Linked DNA regions of Homo sapiens: region 2 is linked to region 1. The links are contacts of gene promoters, found by promoter capture Hi-C in blood cells and fetal thymus (Javierre and others, 2016). All regions are on one chromosome and are shown on one strand. Each heading gives the region's core, a stretch centred on a gene start or on the middle of the fragment in contact. The rest is flanking DNA. Distances are from core to core; before and after follow the strand shown.

Region 1 (5,615 bases), core at 1,388-3,887:
AAATTGGAGATAATCACTGCCCGGCAGATCCATGGAACTCCATTCCCTCCCCGCAGGCTCTCAGACACCCCTCAGAAGTATCTGGAATCGGTGGATCACATACACACCTCACATGCACTCACTCACCTGCAGAACAACACAGAGACCCCCAACCCAAGCAGTTCAACTGCACCCATCCTGACCTTCCCACGCAGCTGCAGACACCACCACAGCCCAGAACCTCCTACCCTTTGCCACCTCTGTCTCTGTTCGGAAAGGGTCAGGCTGAAGGAGCAACCTGCCCAGTTGGAATACCTGACTTTTCATCCCTACCTGACTCCAGGCTTTTCCTCAACTCTGTCCCCTTTCCCTGCGGTGACATCCCTCCATGACTCAATCTGCACATCCCTTAAAGCATAAGCCAGAGTCCCAGCAGTCGGGCAGACCATCAGTTCCCCCACAGTGTAACCACGGGGTGCACAGTTCACAGGTAGGGAGTGACACCAGGCAAGACAGCCAGACTCAGCGGCCAGGACACCCCATCCCCGGCCCTAGGACTGCACACCTCCCAGGGAGCCTGGGCAGTTGCTGAAGGCAGCTTCCACCCCCCACCCCACCCCCAGTGACTGCGGGCCTTGGACCATTAGCCCCCTCCCCCTGCCCCTCTGCACGGCCCTGAGTGATGGTCCATCTATTATGCATGCTCCCTTCCTGCTCCATCCATTTCATCAGTATTCTCCACCCCTGCACCACCCCGCATCCCCCTCTGCTCCCCTCCCTTAAGGGCTTTTAACCAAGTACATTAGGCAGGGCCAGATGCCAGTCTGACAGATGTCCGTAATGTTAGCCTCCGTTTCCCTCCTTCCTCCCTCTGCCCAGCCCAATTTACCTCCCACCACTCCCCGCTGCCAAAACTTCCCAGGCCTCAGTTGTACCCCTCTTCTGGGTCTCCCCCCTATACCTCCTGTTTGTGCCGGGCCTTTGCCAGCCAACCTGCCCTCTGCTGCCCTGTTGGCCTGGCTCACTTTCAGCTCCAGCTCTTGGAGCGCTGGGGTGTGCTGAATGAATATTCCATCTGGGTGATTATTATTCACATGATATTAATTAATTATTAATTGCAATTAATCTCCTTCATGCCTAACCTTCCTCTGGGAGGCAGGAGGGGCCTGGCAGCTGAAAGGGACAGTGGGCAGGCAGGTAGAGCTGGCTTGGGGCCTCAAGTTATTTTCCAAGGCCCCACCTTCAGCCAGGACAGGAAGAACAACAAGCCTATCTGGGCACTGTGTGGAAACTGAGGCAGGAGCAAGCACTAAGTTGTTCCAAGAAAGCCCACTAAGGTGGCTGTGGTGAGAACCTGAGAGCCCTAATCCCTGACTGGAATCTGGGCTGCCTCTCCCTGCCCCCAACTTGCCCCATCCAAGCCCTGTTTTGAACAGAACAACTAGCTTTGGCCAGAGCAGAGCAGGGGGCCATTGGAAGGCTGACCCAAAGCAGACCTGAGACCTAGGCATTAGTGGTCCCTGTACACTGAGGGCAGGGGACCCTACAATAATGGAAGGGGGCCCTGGGGCTGGGCAGGCCTGGTGCTCCCCACCAGTGGGCTCCAGCACCCACCGGATAGCCCACTGTACAGAAGGGGACCCTGCGGGGCAGCTGCTGAGGGGGACTCCAACCCTGGTTACCCCGTGGGCTTCCTGGGGCTCTGAGGCCTGCTTCAGCCCCTGGCCTCACCACCCAGCCCCACTCACCGGGCCCCCTGGTGGCTCCTGGCGGACCCTTGTGTCCAGCTGCTGCTTTCGGACCTCTCCCCCGGAGCTCTCCCTAACCAGACGGCTGGGTTCCGTGACCTCAGGGGCTCCTGGGCCTCCCAGCTGGGGTAAGCCCCCCCATCGCAGAGCTCCAGCAGGACCTTGGGTCCCAAGACCTGGGGAAACAAGGCCATGGCTGCAGGCAGCTGCCCACCCTGGGGCAGAAGACTTGGGAATGGGGTGGGCATGCCTCATCCCCCACTCTGGTGTGGCCCCTGGAGCCCTAGGGCGATCCGGGTGGGAGGATCTGGCTGCCCTGCAGAGGCAAGAGCCCGCGGGGAGGGGGCCAGGAGCTTCACTCCCGCCCAACCGTCACGACTGCCCCCCCATCCGCCCAAACCCGCAGAGACCTGCAGAGCTGGCCGGTCGGCGGCAGGGGCAGGGACGCGGTGGGCCCGGCCAGCTGGGGACAGGTGGGTGGACGCACCTTCCCTCCTCTCCCGCTCCCCTACCCTCCCGCGCTCCGGACCGGCTGTCACCCCGAGCACTGCAGGAAAAGGTGGCTGCAGCAGCAAGCGCCGCACATCCCGGGGCGGGGGCAGGGAGGGGGCGCCGGGGCCGGGCGGGGGTCACTCACCGGGCGTGGGGAGCAGCGACAGCAGCAGAGCCGCGAACGCCCAGCGCCGCAGCAGCCTCATGGCTCGCTCATTCCTCCCGGTCCGGGGGCTGCGGCTGCCAGCGGCGCGGGGAGGGCGGGAGCAGGGACGGGGGTGGGGAGGCGCCAGCTGCGGAGCCGGGGCGGGGGCGCGGGGCCGGGCGGGGGTCGCGGAGAGGTGGGGGCGGCAGGGACGGCGCCGGGGCTCAGCGCGCTCCGGCCGCGGCCATCCCGGCGGGGCGGCGGGGCCGGGTTAAGAGCTGAGCAGCGAGCACGTGAGCCCAGGGCCCGCCCTCCGCTCTCCCGCCGCCCCCCGGCCCCCCCAGCCCCGCAGGGCCCGGGCCGCCGCCGCGGCAGGACAAAAGAGGCGCCGCCCCGGGGTCCCTCCTCGCACCTCGAAGTCTCCTCGGCAGGTGCGGGGCGGTGGCGCTCCGCGTACTTATCCCGCGGCCTCTCCTCGGCCACCTCTGCCTGAGCATCTCCGAGGACTCGTAGATTTGTAGGGGAGGGAAGCAGGGGACGGGGTACCCCCGGGGTCGACCCGGCGACTGCCTGTCTGGGGCCCGGGGGCAGGGGCGTGGCTGCGGCGCCCACGTTCGCCCCTCTGTCGTGGTACCCCAGAGAGGCTGCCCCAGCCCCAGCTTGGAGCGCCCCGCTTGACCCCAGGCTGTGGAAGCTGGGGTTGGGGTGGGCAAAGGCTCTTGGCGAACGCCGGGCTCTACGCCTCTGGGATTTCTTGCACCTTCGCTACGGGTCGTGTCACTGCGGAGTCCTCTCACGCCCGCGGTACAGACCCCTTCCCATCGGCTCCTTCTCCCCGCCAAAGATGCCCCGGCCTCCAGGAGGGCTTCAGGGATCGCTGTCACTCCAACCATCAGGAAGGGCTGGCATGTCCGTCTGGGTTCCTGAGTCTCTCACAGGCGTCCTGTCCTTCCTCCTAGATAAAATATAAACTAGCCAGGTCACTTATATGCTGCTAGCATGCCCCATGGCTCCCCCTCCCTTGCTAGTCCCAATCCTTAGGAGCAGAAGACACCTCTGGAGCCCCCCAGCATTCCCTCTCTGGTCAGACTAGGCTGCCCTGTCTGCAAAATACTTGACCTCCCAACCTACATTCCCAGCTGTGCCCTCCACCCAGCTCCTGGGGATGTTGGGTCCCAATACCAGGGCTGGGACCTCAGACTTCTGCTAGGGGTGCTGAAGGCCAGATACCTGAGATGGTGTGGGGTGTGGTAGGGCATGGTGGGTGGGCCGCTGAGTCCCCACCCTGACCTTTTTGGTACCCATGCTAGGGGACCACAGGTTGCTGAAGAACAAGATTGGAGGCAGGAAACCCCTTCCTGGGTCCTCTGCTTCCGCAAGGACCCAGGGCCTCTGCTGGGGATGAGGGAACTGCCTCTAGCTTGTGACACCCCCACCCCCCGCTCTATTTTAGGCCCAGGAGAGGTGAGAAGGCGATTTCCCAGGAGGCGCTGACATCAATGTAGGGAACCAAGTGACTCCCCCCACCCCCAACCACCTGCCATGCCAGGCCCAGATGCTCAGTAAGGCTGAGCCAATTCTTCCTTCGCTCTGGAGACATCTTGAGAACCTCCTCCAAGATGTAGGCATGAGGAGGCTCCTGGGAATGAGGGCCTACTAGGTGGTATTCCTGGAAACTCATCATGAGCCCAGAGGGAGAGATTGTGCTCCCCATTTTACAGATGGGGAAACTGAGGCTCTGAGAGGTTATGTGAGCTTCTCAAAGTCACACAGCTGGTGAAAGGCACATCCCATACTCCATGGCCCCACTCCTCTTAGCCACCCCTAGTCCTACTTCCATCTCTGCCCTCCATTTGGGACCAGAGGGGACTGGTATATCTGGTCCCATGCACCCTCACCACACACCCCAGACACGAAGGTGGCTGTCCTGCTCCAGCCTGCCCATGTCCCAGGGCCACATCAGCAAGTCCCGATCAGGAGTGCCCCCCAGTAGGCTGGGTGAGGTTTGTCATTTCACAGTGCGAGCCCGGGGCTGGGAGAGTCTGGGTCCTCCAACATGTTCAAGACCACAGAGCAAGCCCAATCTGTGGTCCAGGCCTCTTCACCAGAGGCATGTTCCTACCACATCGGTGGCCCTGGGACCCTAGACTTCCTGTTGGGGAGACCTGATGAGCCCTAAGAGTGACTCTCCCTGGTGGCACCCTGGGCTAGTTCCAGTGGAGACTCGGTCATATGGCTCCCTGGCCCCCATAGCCACTTATATTCCTGGGTTCCCCGGCTCCCAGCAGATCTGGCTAGAACTTACTTTTTTTTTTTTTTTTTTTTTGAGACAGAGTCTGGCTCTGTCGCCCAGGCTGGAGTGCAGTGGCACGATCTCGGCTCACTGCAAGCTCCGCCTCCCGGGTTCACGCCATTCTCCTGCCTCAGCCTCCTGAATAGTTGGGACTACAGGTGCTCGCCACCACGCCCAGCTATTTTTTTTTTTTTTTTGTATTTTTAGTAGCGACGGGGTTTCACATGTTAGCCAGCATGGTCTCGATCTCCTGGCCTCGTGATCCACCCGCCTCGGCCTCCCAAAGTGCTGAGATTACAGGCGTGAGCCACCGCACCCGGCTAGAACTTACTATTTTTTTTTTTTCTTTTGGAGAGTCTCGCTCTGTCACCCAGGCTGGAGTAAAGTGGCAAGATCGCGGCTCACTTCAACCTCCACCTCTGGGGTCAAGTGATTCTCTTGCCTCAGCCTCCCGAGCAGCTAGGACAACAGGCATGTGTCACCATACCTGGCTAATTTTTTGTATTTTTAGTAGAGATGGGATCTCACCATGTTGCCCGGGCTGTTCTCACCCTCCTAAATTCACCATGTTGTCCAGGCTGTCCTCAACCTCCTAAATTCAGGCAATCTGCCTGCCTCCCAAAGTGCTAGGATTACAGGTGTGAGCCACCATGCCTGGCCTAGAACTTTCTTTTTTTTTTTTTTTGAGATTGAGTTTCGCTCTTTTTTTTTTTTTGAGATGGAGTCTCGCTGTGTCACCCAGGCTGGAGTGCAGTGGCGCCATCTCGGCTCACTGCAAGCTCCGCCTCCCGGGTTCATGCCATTCTCCTGCCTCAGTCTCCCGAGTAGCTGGGACTACAGGTGCCCAACACCATGCCCAGCTAATTTTTTTGTGTTTTTAGTAGAGACGGGGTTTCACTGTGTTAGCCAGGATAGTCTCGATCTCCTGACCTCGTGATCCACCCGCCTCGGCCTCCCA
Region 2 (5,615 bases), core at 1,629-4,128, 120 kb before region 1:
AGGAGTTCGAGACCAGCCTGACCAACATGATGAAACCCTGTGTCTACCGAAAATACAAAATTAGCTGAGCATGGTGGCGCACGTCTGCAATCCCTGCTACTTGGGAGGCTGAGGCAGGAGAATCTCTTAAACCCTGGAGGCAAAGGAGGTTGCAGTAAGCTGAGATCGCGCCATTGCACTCCAGCCTGGGCTACAAGAGCAAAACTCTGTCTCCAAAAAAGTAAAAATAAAAAAATCCCTCCACACACCCAGGAGCATTTCCAGCTGGGAGGGCACTGGTCTCATTGTCTGTAATTGCTGTGGGGACACCCTGCTCTCTCTCTCTCTTTAATCTCAAAGAAACCCTTGAGCTGGGAGGTAGTGAGGGAAAGTGATTGATGGTTCGTTTGTGGGAGAGCAGTCTCAACTCAGGTGGTAACAACAGTTAATTTTTTTTCAGCTGTGCTATACTGACATCCTCTTCACAGAGCAAGAGGTAAGCATGCCTTGGGGAATCTGATTGTCACCTACACCAGACCCACCAGTAATAGTTTTGTAGGGAATGTAGAGGAGCCTTTATGATAGCATTTTAGTTCATATCCTACTCCTCTCTCTCCACTTCTCACATCCCATCTCCTTCTTCCCCCAGTTACTCCAGGGTTATAACTTGAAAAAGAACTGGGTAGGCAAGCTGTAGGTTAGGAGGGGAACCCTCCTGTTCTTGACTAGATTAAATTTGGCCTAATATAGGAGAAGTACTAAGAGGCGATGTCTGCATTTGTGCTATAAGTTACGCAGAAGCTCAACATGATTTTTTTAAAATGACATCATCCTTTAAAAATCCGCAGGATGAGTCCATCCATATGATGACCTCTTTCTAGGAGTAGCTTCTCTTTGAAAATGGGTTCCTATATCTTTGTGTTTCTCTTTTTGTCTTTCCTTCCGGATCTTTCTCTCTAATCTCTGACCCCTTCTGTTTCCCTCCTCTTATTTCTGTCTCTTTTTCCTAATGGAAGTTTTAAGTATAATAAGTATGGTTAACTAAAGGCACTTGGAATTAGTAAAGATAGATAGGCAATCAATGTTAGCTGTTATTATTTTATAATGTATTTATGTATTTGTTTGGAGTTTTAAAAAAAATGTTTATTTCTGTCATAGCTTTTATATTTCTTTTTTAAAAAAAAACTAAAATACCCCAGATTGTTTCTTTTTACTTTCAAGGTGCTCAGCTATTGTTTTTGTTTCTAATGTATAAAGAGGATGAGATTCTAGGACCCTGGATTCTCTGATAAGGCTTAATACTGTTTTGTTTGCAGTAATTCATTTTCATCTTTTCACATTTGAAACAAGTCCCCCAAAAATGGTGTCTAACACCAAGATATTTTATCTTCAAGGTCATGCTGGCTAGAGGCCTAGATAAAAATCACCCACTATAAGGAGAGGCATCAGTGTAATTTACTAGCAACTGGGGAGCCCCAAAAACAAAATGAACCCCTCTTGCATAGGAAGAGGTCTTGACCACTCTTTGTTCCTTTCAGAGAGGTGTAGGCATCAAAAGCACTCCTGTGACAGTGGTCTTGCCAGACACCAAAGGAAAATCTTATCTCTTCAATATCATGGACACTCCAGGTAGGACATCCTTTGGCTTTTGATTATTAGAACCTTGTCTTGGTTTTGCGTGTGTCCTCTCACTTTTCGGAGCAGAACGGAGCAGTGCATCTTTGTTTTTACATTCCCTCACCTTCATTGAAACCATTTTCCATTTTGACTCTCTCCTTTGTTTCTGACTTGTTAATTTAGCAAGCATCATACTCCAGGCCTTCTATTCATGTCTTTACTCTTTCGAATATTTAAAAATGTTAGGGAATTGTATTCATTTATTCATTTCAGCCTGTCAGGCCCCATGCTATCTGCTGGGGAGCTAAAGGTGAGTCAGAGCCAGTCCCTGGCCTTGAGTACTCTCAGTCTTTTGAAGGAGACTGGTGAACATCCTGATGACCTTGGGAGCAGCGCACCTTGGCTGACTCTTCCTCCTATGGAAAGGACCAACTGGGGCAGAGTTTTTAAAAACTGGAAGGTTTTAGGTTTTGGCTGATTTGCTTTCTTGGCACCATCTGATGCCCAGTGTCCTGATACCTCTCAGCCCCTGCCCCCATAGCACCTTGCCAGGAACTGCCTTCCTCGAGCAGCACACTGTGCTCCAGGCCCTGCTTTGCCCTTTCTCCTGCCTCCAGATTGTCTTGAATCCCACAGAACTCTACTTACTGCTGATTAGGCTAAGCTGGTCTGTGTGTGTGGACTCATGCTCTCCTGGGCATGAGTCCCAGGAGTCCCTCTTTTTATGTAGGGAGCCTCCCGTAGGAAAGCTTAATGCAAGGATATGACACTAATGGGGGATATTTTTACCCTGTGGGGGGTTATGGCGAGGAGGAAAGGGGATATTCGGAGGTTCACGGGCTTTGAAGTGCCCCCTCAGTTCACCCTACCAGTTAATTGTGCTTTATCCTGCACCAAGTGATGACTTACTTAGTATTTGCTTTTCAGGACATGTGAATTTCTCTGATGAGGTCACAGCTGGCTTGCGCATCTCAGATGGAGTGGTCCTTTTCATTGATGCTGCTGAGGGGGTGAGTCAGACTCAGCTCCCAGAATCTCATCCACCTGTTATGTTTGCCCCCACCCCGCAACAATACCCAGAGCACTGAGTGAGCTGGGAGCCAGAGAACTTGAAACTCTCTGGGATTAAGGCTCAAATTTGCTCTAAAATTAAAGCAGCAAATGTTTCAAAATTAATTCTTACCGGGTGTGGTTGCTCACACCTGTAATCCCAGCACTTTGGGAGGCTGAGGTGGGTGGATCACCTGAGGTCAGGAGTTCGAGACCAGCCTGGCCAACGTGGCGAAACCCCGTCTCTACCAAAAATACAAAAATTAGCCAGGTGTGGTGACCCATGCCTGTAATCCCAGCTACTCATTAGGCTGAAACAGGAGAATCACTTGAGCCTGGGAGTTGGAGGTTGCAGTGAGCCGAGATTGCGCCACTTCACTCCAGCCTGGGTGCTAGAGTGAGACATTCTCTCAAAAAACGAAGAAAAAAATTATCAATGTGGGTGCCCTTGCTTCCTGCTCAGTGAAGCTCAAAATGATAAGACTCATTGCTATTCAGAAAACACAAAGATAAAATGACAAATGTAAATAAAAGGAAGGGAGGAGTGTATGTTCTTGTAAGTGGATTTTTAATATTAGTTGTGTTTTTCCAAGAGATTGGAGTTAAAATACCAGGGTGTCTTCTGTATTCCTCAATTGAGAGATGGAACACTTTGGCTAACCTTATTCGTGTTATCATTGGTGAGACAGCCAGCAGAGGGAGCCAGAATTGTCTTTTTTTAAACTGACTTTTCATTTTGGAATAGCAGCAAACTGAAAAGCTTCAAGAATTGTTCAAAGAACCCACCCTCATTTACTTCGTAATTCTCTCTCTGTACACGTTCAGACACACACAGAGAGACAGGTGTGTACATTTTCCCCTTGAACTGTTTGAAAGTAAAATATTTCAGAATGTATTTTCTAAGAATAAGGACATTCACCTATGTAACCACAGTACAGTTGCCAAAATCAGAAAATTTGACATTGATACAGTCCTGTTGTACAGATCTTTTTTTGCAGACCTTATTCAGTTTTATTAATCATACCAACAATTTCCGTTATAGAATTTTTTCCCCTAATCCAGAGTGATGCATAACATTTAGTTTTCATGATTTTCAAGTCTCTCTGAATTGAAGCTGTTCTTTAGCCTCTCTTGGTCTTTTATGACATTGACACTTTTGAAGAGTACAGGGCACTTATTTTGTAGAATGTCTTTCAATTTGGGTTTGTCTAATACTTCCTCGTGATTAAGCTCTGGTTATTAGAATCTGGTTATTCTTCTCCTTATCAAACTTTATCTACTAGTTTTGTCATCTATTGATGATTCTTGGCTTGTTCCTACAATAGTTGCAAATAGTGAGTCTTCTAACTCTTCTTATTCCTTCTGTTTTGTTTTGGTTTTGAGATGGAGTCTTGCTCTGTTGCCCAGGCTGGAGTGAAGTGGTGCGATCTCAGTTTACTGCAACCTCTGCCTTTTGGGTTCAAGCAATTCTCCTGTCTCAGCCTCCCAAATAGCTGAGATTACAGGTGCACGCCACCACACCTGGATAATTTTTGTATTTTTAGTAGAGACAGGGTTTCATTCACCATGTTGGCCAGGCTGGTCTCGAACTCCTGACCTCAAGTGATCTGCCCACCTAGGCCTCCCAAAGTGTGGAGATTACAGGCGTGAGCCACCGCTTCCAGCCATTGTTGTTTGTTGTTGTTGTTGTTGTTGTTGTTTTGTTTTTTTGAGATGGAGTCTTGCTCTTCCGCCCAGGCTGGAGTGCAGTGGCGCAATCTTGGCTCACTGCAACCTCTGCCTCCCAGGTTCAAGTGATTCTCCTGCCTCAGCCTCCCAGGCAGCTGGGACTACAGGCGCCTGCCACCACACCTGGCTAATTTTTGAATTTTTTGTAGAAATGGGGTTTCACCATGTCGGTCAGGCTGGTCTTGAACTCCTGACCTCAAGTAGTCCACCTGCCTCGGCCTCCCAAAGTGCTGGGATTACAGGCATGAGCCACTGCGCCTGGCCTATTGGTTGGAATTATGTTGTAAAGAAGTGCTTTTGTTTCTCCCCCATTTGCTTATTATCACTGTGGATATTTGGGTTTGCATTTTATTCAGTGAGTTATAATCTGTTACTGTCCTTATGGATTCCGGTGCTCTAGTGCTCTTGTCCCAGATTTGGCTACTGAGAGCTCCTTCAGGCTGATTCCATCATCTTTTTCACGCCTCATCGTTTTTTGAGCACTTCCTTACTTTCAAGCACAAAAAGATGTTCTAGACGTTATCTTTCCTTGTCCCAATCCTGGACTCAGCCATTTCTTCAAGGAGCTCTGGCTTTTTTTTTTTCCTTCAAAGAGATGGCATCTTGCCCTCTGGCCCAGGCTGGAGTGCAATGGTACAATTATACCTCACAGCAGCCTCGAGCTCCTGGGCTCAAGTGATTCACTCACTTCAGCCTCCCAAATAGCTGGGACTACAGGTATGTGCCAACATGCCCAGCTTATTTTTAAATATTTTTTTGAGAGATGGGGTCTCGCTCTGTTGCCGGGGATGGTCTTGAACTTCTGGCTTCAAGCAATCCTCCTGCCTTGGCCTCCCCAAAATGCTGGGATTACAGGTGTGAGTGACTGCACCTAGCCTAGCAGCTCTGGCTCATAGTGGGGAGTAGTTTTTTTTTTTTTTTTTTTTTTTTTTGAGACGGAGTCTCACTCTGTCGCCCAGCAGGCTGGAGTGCAGTGGTGCGATCTTGGCTCACTGCAAGCTCTGCCTCCCGGGTTCACGCCATTCTCCTGCCTCAGCCTCCCAAGTAGCTGGGACTACAGGTGCCTGCCACCACGCCCAGCTCATCTTTTTGTATTTTTAGTCGAGACAGGGTTTCACCGTGTTAGCCAGGATGGTCTCGATCTCCTGACCTCGTGATTCGCCCACCTCAGCCTCCCAAAGTGCTGGAATTACAGGCATGAGCCACTGTGCCCGGCCAGTGGGGATTAGTATTTAGAAACA

Evidence for each region. Contacts are between HindIII fragments. The CHiCAGO score rates a contact against its expected background, and 5 or more counts as called.
Region 2: a fragment that was not itself captured here is called in contact with the fragment with the promoter of ADAM11 in region 1 in 1 of 17 cell types (endothelial precursors); the score reaches 5.5 in endothelial precursors.

What each region holds. Positions count from the first base shown.
Region 1 is chr17:44,756,010-44,761,624 of GRCh38, reverse strand. It overlaps ADAM11 (ADAM metallopeptidase domain 11), which reads right to left and starts at 2,637. Exons shown (of 27, transcript NM_002390.6): 1 at 2,365-2,637; 2 at 1,728-1,903. The coding sequence starts at 2,425. RefSeq lists an enhancer at 2,445-2,996. The HindIII fragment of the contact is 6,513 bases long and covers 1-5,615 here.
Region 2 is chr17:44,876,547-44,882,161 of GRCh38, reverse strand. It overlaps EFTUD2 (elongation factor Tu GTP binding domain containing 2), which reads left to right. Exons shown (of 28, transcript NM_004247.4): 7 at 440-475; 8 at 1,518-1,608; 9 at 2,524-2,606. Among named protein-coding and RNA genes, the nearest start is that of EFTUD2, 20 kb to the left of the region's middle. The HindIII fragment of the contact is 1,061 bases long and covers 2,348-3,408 here.